Regions from separate parts of the Homo sapiens genome. Here region 1 is linked to region 2. The links are contacts of gene promoters, found by promoter capture Hi-C in human tissues and cell types (Jung and others, 2019). All regions are on one chromosome and are shown on one strand. The core of a region is centred on a gene start or on the middle of the fragment in contact, and the rest is flanking DNA. Distances in the headings are between cores, read along the strand shown.

Evidence for each region. Contacts are between HindIII fragments. The study calls those that stand out against the background at their distance.
Region 1: a fragment that was not itself captured here is called in contact with the fragment with the promoter of ELOVL4 in region 2 in 4 of the 25 tissues and cell types used here (H1 embryonic stem cells, mesenchymal stem cells, small bowel and 1 more).

What each region holds. Positions count from the first base shown.
Region 1 is chr6:80,071,315-80,074,719 of GRCh38, forward strand. No RefSeq gene overlaps it. Among named protein-coding and RNA genes, the nearest start is that of BCKDHB, 34 kb to the right of the region's middle. The HindIII fragment of the contact is 4,838 bases long and covers 1-3,405 here.
Region 2 is chr6:79,945,449-79,949,114 of GRCh38, forward strand. It overlaps ELOVL4 (ELOVL fatty acid elongase 4), which reads right to left and starts at 2,105. Exons shown (of 6, transcript NM_022726.4): 1 at 1,732-2,105. The coding sequence starts at 1,831. It overlaps LOC124901350, which reads right to left. Exons shown (of 2, transcript XM_047419628.1): 2 at 1,939-2,563. The coding sequence starts at 2,367. The coding sequence ends at 1,939. LOC124901351 (a long non-coding RNA gene) reads left to right here and starts at 2,357. Exons shown (of 3, transcript XR_007059656.1): 1 at 2,357-2,479. RefSeq lists a silencer at 2,165-2,214. The HindIII fragment of the contact is 11,635 bases long and covers 1-3,666 here.

The DNA.
Region 1 (3,405 bases), core at 740-3,239, 130 kb after region 2:
GGGAGCACAGCAGGAGCTGATGGTAGAGTTGGGTGTAGAGTCCAGACATGAAGGACTGTGTATATCATGCTAAGGAGATGGTTCTTTTCCTGTCACCAATGGGGAATTTTTAAAGCCTTTGAAGCAGGATAGACACAAGATCTTGTCTCTATTTGTACTTTAAAATGTTCTAATTCTTTGAGAAAAATGGAATAGTGGAGATATAAACCAGTAGATTATTGCTAAAGGCCAGGAGGGAGGTAGTGAGAGCTTAAACTATGGCAGTGGATAAGGGATGGAGAGGAAAGGATAGATTAAGTAAATAAGTAAAATAAACAGAATGGTCACTGTAAGTGAAGAAGATGGAAAAGGGAAATGCCTAGGGCAGTTACTGGTTTCTAGCTGGGCATTGTGGGAGTGACATTTATGGGAAAAGGGAACACAGAAGACCAAAATGAAATAAGAATTCATATGTAAAAGTAACTACCTCACATAAGTAGTTATGTGTGAAAGTAGAAATACTGTCACTTATCATCATTATTTAAAAGTCAAGGTCCTGAAAATAACACTTTAAACTACACTTAATTTGACTGTAAGAGAGTGTATAATGTTTCTTTAGTCAGGCTATGTGTTTTGCCTTTCTATTCTTGGACACAAATATATTGTTGAAGTCAGAAGTTGAGGCTGAAAAATGGCTTGAGTCTAACTCTTCTGAATTTCAGCGTGCTATGCTGCTGTCTATGCTGGTTACTATCAATATGGTGACCACTGGGTCTGGTAATGCACCAAACTACTGAAAGTGCAACTGGTTAGTTAGAAGTAATAGAATTCCTCACTGCCCCCCGCTCCACCCACCCACACACAAACTTAATGATTTAAAGCTTTGCCAGTCAACCATTTTGCAAATGTAGGTTATACAAAAAATCCAAGTTGAATAAGTGTATGAATGGCCAATACAAAAAAAGATAGTAATGGCTAAAATGTATTGAGCCCCTACTATATGCCAGGTGCTATTCTAAATATTCTCAATTAACCTTCACAAGTCATGGAGTTAGTGACTACTATACTCCTCATTTTGAAGATGGGGAAACTGAATCACAAGCTTACCCAAGGCCATCTGCAAGTAGGTTCAAGCTAGTATAATATAATACCAGATCCTGAACTCTTAACCGTTATACTAAAATGTAGTGAATAATGACCTCCTAATAAAGAGTAAAAAGGGGTTGAAGTCCCCAGCTGTTATTGTTTTGGGGTCTATCTCTCTCTTTAGATCTGATAATATTTGCTTTATGTATCTAGGTGCTCTGATGTTGGGTGCATATATATTTACAATTGTTATATTCTCTTGCTGAATTTATCCCTTTATCATCTTTTAAACTTCATTGTCTCTTTTTAGAGTTTTTGACTTAAAATTATTTTATCTGAAATAAGCATAGCTACTCCTGCTTGTTTTTGGTTTCTGTTTGCATAGACTATCCTTTTCCATCTCTTTCACATTCGGTTTATATGTGTCTTTGCAGATGAAGTGAATTTCTTGTAGGCAGCACACAGTTGAGTCATTTTATATCTTTAAGGTGGGGAATGTAATTAATTTACATTCAAGGTTGTTATTGATAGGTGAAGATTCATGTCACTATATTAATTGTTTTCCAGTTGTCTTGCATATCCTTTGTTCCTTTCTTCCTTGTTTATCATTGTGGTTTAGTGGTTTTCTGTAGTGATAGGGTTTCATTATTTTCTCTTTGTATATCTGCTCTACCACTGAGTTTTATACTTTTGCGTGGTTTCATGATAGCCATCTTTTCACTTTAAGATGTAGGACTCGCTTAAGGATTTTTGCAAGACTAGGATAGTGGTGATAAATTCCCTCAGTTTTTGCTTGTCTGGAAAAGGCTTTATTTCTCTCGTGTCTGAAAGGTAGCTTTGCTGAGTATAGTGTTCTTGACTGGCAGGTTTTTCTCCTTTCAGCACTTCAAATAATTCATCAAATAATTCATTTTCTTCTAGTCTGTAAGGGTACTGCAAAGAAATATGCGTTAGTCTAATGGGGATTCCTTTATGTGTGACTTAATGCTTTTATCTTGATGTTTTTAGAATTCTCTTTGTCTTTGACTTTTGATAGTTTGACTATAAAGTGCCACAGGGAGTAGATTTTTAGACTGAATCTTTTTGGAGACCTTTGAACTCCTAGATCTCCTAGATCTGGATATCCATATCTCTCCCCAGCTTGGAACAATTTTAGCTATTATTTTATTAAATAGGTTTTTCTACACCATTTTCCTTCTCTTTTCCATCTGGAACTCCCATAAATGAGAACATTTGTTCACTTAATGGGGGGTCCTATAAGTCTTGTAGCCTTTCTTTATTCTCTTTCATTCTTATTTCCTTTATTTTTTCTGGCTGGGTAATTTCAGATAACCTATCTTCAAGTTCAGAGATCTTTTTTTTTTTTTTTTTTTTTGAGACAGAATCTTGCTCTGTTGCCCAGGCTGGAGTGCAGTAGCACGATCTCGGCTCACTGCAACCTCTGCCTCCTGAGTTCAAGCGATTCTCCTGCCTCAGCCCCCCGAGCAGTTGGGACTACAGGCACATGCCACATGCCCACCTAATTTTTGTATTTTTAGTAGAGACAGGGTTTCACTATATTGGCCAGGATGGTCTTGAACTCCTGACCTCGTGATCCATCCACCTCAGCCTCCCAAAGTGCTGGGGTTACAGGCATAAGCCACTGCTCCAGGCCTAAGTTCAGAGATTCTTTTATTGGCTTGATCAAGGCTGCTGTTGAAGCTCTCTATTATTTCTTCAATTCATAGAAATCATTAGCTGCAGTATTTCTCTTGGCTTTTTCAATGATTTTTATCTCTTTGTTGAATTTATCATTTGTATCATAAATTTTTTTCTGATTTTGTTGAATTGCCTGTCTATATTTTCTTGTATCTCATTGAGTTTTCTTAAGATCACTATTTTGAATTTCTTTTCCAGCAGTTTGTTGATTTCACTTTCATTGGGTCTGTAACCAGATAGTTATTATATTTCTTTGGTGGTATCAGATTTTTCTTGCTTTTTAATGTTGTGTGTGTGTGCTCCTATGTTGATGTCTGTGCATCTGGTGGAAAAATCACCTCTTCCAAAACTTCTAGAGTGGATCTTGTAGAGAAAAACTTTCATCTGCAGTTGGGTTTTGGTGTGCCAGTTTGGAAGGATGTAGTGATTCTATTTTCAGACAGGTACAGTGCAGTCAAGAACACTATACCCAGCAAAGCTGCCCTTCAATAGCTTCTGCAGCTGTTCAAAGTCAACAATAACTGTGAGCACCTCAGTAGCATAAGCTGTAGAAGTTTGTGGGATGGCAGTGGCAGTGTAGGTTGTTAATAGCTCCTCAGTGTCAAGGGCTTTTGAAGTCCTCCTTGTTTTCTCTACAATGAA
Region 2 (3,666 bases), core at 855-3,354:
GAATTCACCATCACAGAAAGGTGTATTCTACCTTTGCCCTCAATTTTTCCTTCTGAGACTCAAGAGATGGGAAAGCTCCGGGATAGGATAGGAATGACAGGACCGAGAACTCCTGGGTGTGGCTCTGGCTATATGGAGACTGGAGTATCTCAACAGTGTCTGACTCCTAGGTGTGCGAAGTGCAATTACCTGCTAAAGAACTTGTCTGATGTTCAGCTCTATACAATTGTGTAATGGGAAGCCCTGATGCAACGTTTAAAGAACCGAAATCACAGACGTGAAGGGAAGGGCACATCTTTCCCAGTTTTTGCAGGTACAGTGTAACATCAGTGTAATAGCGCATAGAAACAAAAAAAAAAACTGAAGAAACACTCCATTGAAAACTGCCTTTTAACCATTTTCAGCTGTAATGGCTTATTAAATAGCTTATTTCCCAGTGTCAAAGTTGAGATCTTCTGAAAAAGAACATACTTTTCTAAAGAAGTGAATGCAGTATTAATGCCAAATAATCATTTTGTCTCTCACAAAAATAATTCCAGCATACGTTTTTCCCAAAACATAAGCCCTATGTATCGGACTACATTCATGCTGTAACCACTGTCTAATTTCCTCTAACAACAATGAACACAAAAACTACAGGAGTACATTTTCATTTCGAAGTAGGGAAGGCAGAGTCATAAGATGGAACGTTAATATCCTTCACTGATAGGATGCAGTGTGATACTGCAAAAGGACCAGAAAAATTGACCTCGTAAAATCATTTCTGAAATCCTTTAAACCTTATTTTAGATTTCAAAGACTTTTAAATGCTTTAAAATCAAAAGCAGCGAAGCAAATGAAGAAATAAACAGTACAATGTAAAAATATAATATCACAGTTGGACGCTAGGAAAGCTGCATAAATCAAACAATTGACAGCCCTGCCAAATTAACTGCAACAGCTAAAGAAAAGTTTGCTGATTTAAGAACTGTATATATGTAGGCATCTGGGACAACCTCTAGGTGTTGCTGTAGAGACCCCCTTCCTAAAGACTGATTTCTTCCCCGGTGTTTTGGCCTCCCCCTCCCCCTGACTGCACTGCAGTGCGCAAAGCCATTATAGACAATCACTTCAAACATATTTGCTGTTGAAAATGCCTCGGAAACTAACATTCTTCAAGGTTCAAGGAGCCAAACAATATTATTTTACTTTTCAGTCCGAATTATACTATAGATGAAGGAGCTAGATAGAAGAAAAGATTAGCAGGGTTCTGTCAAAGCGACCAGGAGGCTGAAGAAACCTCCTGTACCTTCAGCTGCCCCTGAAGCCCTCCTTCCTCCCCAGCCCGCTCTCCATACAAAATAGGACTAAATGTTAAAAGGAATCCTGTGCACGGGGAAGAGGGAGGCGAGCTCGGGAGATGTGGGAGCACAGGGTGGGGCGGCTCCTGCGAGGAGCTCCTGGCTGCACAGGCTCCATCTGATATGTCAGCTCCCGCATCCGAGAGCTGATGAGAGATGGAGGGAGCTCAGAAGAAAACCCTGCGAGTGTCGGGGGAGGGGAGGCCTTAACATTCGGATCAGATTAACCAGTGCTCAACCGCAGTGCCCGCGCCGGCCCCTCCGCTGATCCGCAGCATCCGAAAGCCGCAGGGCGCGGGGGCCTGTGGGGCCGGGCCCGGGAGCTGCGAGACCAGGGGCCGGTGACCCCCCGCGGGGGACCGAGCGAGGATGGGGAAGTCAGCGGCTTTACCTGCGATGGACCAGGTCCAGCGGTAGAACTCTACCGTGTCGTTGAGTGCCGTGGACACTACGTTTAGGACACTACCCGGCTCCGAGTCCAGGAGCCCCATCGCGGCGATGAGCGGGCGCTGGCGGCAGGAGAAAGCGGAGACCCAGAGAGAGGGCTGACCCCGGAGGCGGTGGCGGCCGACGGGGCGAGCGGCGGCCGGGAACCCCTCTAACGGCGGCGGCCCGGCTGCGTCTTCTCCTGCTCCTCAAGGCGCCGCGGCGGCGGGGATGCGGCAGAAGGCAGGGCCAAGCGGAAGGCGTCGTCAAGGTTCCCGGGAGAAAGACGAGGAGGTGGAGGAGGCCCAGCCGCCAGCACAGTGCGCTGCACCAGTCTGCAGCCTCGCGCAGCCGCCCCTCCAATCTCCTCAGCCGGCGTCACGTGGCCGCGCGCGGGGGCGGGGGGCCGGCCGCCCCTCCTCCCTCCCTCCCTCCCTAGTATTGGGACTCGCTGGCGTAGGGATGCTGCGCTCAAGGGTGCGACGCCAACTGGGCTCGCGCAGGCGCGCGCCGTCGAGCGGGAGCGGGACACCTGGGCTCCTCCTTGGCCCCTCCCCGCACAAGTCGCCTCATTAGCCTTCCCCGCCCCTGTCCCGGGCATCGGCCCCTGCGGAGGAGTTCACCGCCTCCCCACGGGTGATTTCTTATCCGCCCCGGATACGTCCTGGGAAACAGGACACGGGAAGAATGGGTGTTCTGTGGGCAAAGATGAGGTAGGCGTGGTGCTTTGGTCCTTACCTGACACTCACCTCGATTTCACTTGTGTTCCTGTTTCTTTGACCTCCACCAGCACATGCCTGTCACCATGACAAGAGAAGTGCATGTGTTATGCCTCTGAAGAAGTGAAGGGTATTTGTCTTCCATGCTTCAGCGATGGAGAATAGACTTTGGGGTCGACCCATGAACAAATCAACATATAATTGCATGAATGCTTGCATGTGTTTTGTAGACTCTTTTACTATACATGGAATGAACAAAGCAATATAATTGTGCTAAATTAGGCCATTAGTAGTTCAGAGAAGAGGGAGAACCGAGAGGGGCTTACAGGTGAAGTCCGCTTGAACCTGAAGAAGTTGAGGTGAATCTGAAAAAGATAATCGCTCAAGAGGCAAAGGGCAATTTAGTGTAGAGAGGAAAACAAAGTAATTGTGGCTATTTTGAAAAATTGTTTAGATAAGGTATAGGAGAGCCTACCCTTGAAAAGTAAAAAAAATACAGTACTTGGAATTCATAATTTGATGGTTTCTCACATAAAACAAGATTTTTGAGAATAGTCCTTTCATCTACTTGTTTTTTAAATGTGTCACCTACTTGTTTAACCTTTTCTCCACTTGCTCATTTTGGATGCTACATTTTAAAGACCAGTGAGTCAAGTGTCTTATTGTTCCTGCCCTTTCACACTGTTAATGTGAATACTATCTTTTATCATACTGAAATGATCTATTTCCCAATTGACCTGGTTATATATTGTCTATATTTTATATTGGAAGCATCCTAGATGGTAAGAATTATTTTTGGTTGCTTGATGAGTACCTAACCCAGTGCTATAAACAGTAATTAATAAATATTTATGATGACAAAAATATAACATGTCTTTCAGAGAATAATAAGGATTATTGTGAGTGGCAGGAACTTTATTGCCGAACTAAAGCAAACACAGACTTCTTTAAATGCCCTATTCTTGAAATTAACCAAATAAAATGTTAATTTATTAATTTGTCAAATATATTTGCAAATCTAAAGTTTTCTGGATTGGAATGACAATTTCTCAAGTCTCAATCCTAAATTATGTGTAACAGATTCTAGTAGCTATATAAAAAAAAGAAATCCAGTCAAGTCTCTTCATTTAGGGAGTGGATAAATACCCATTCATTTACAGTGATGATCTAACAAAGTTCGG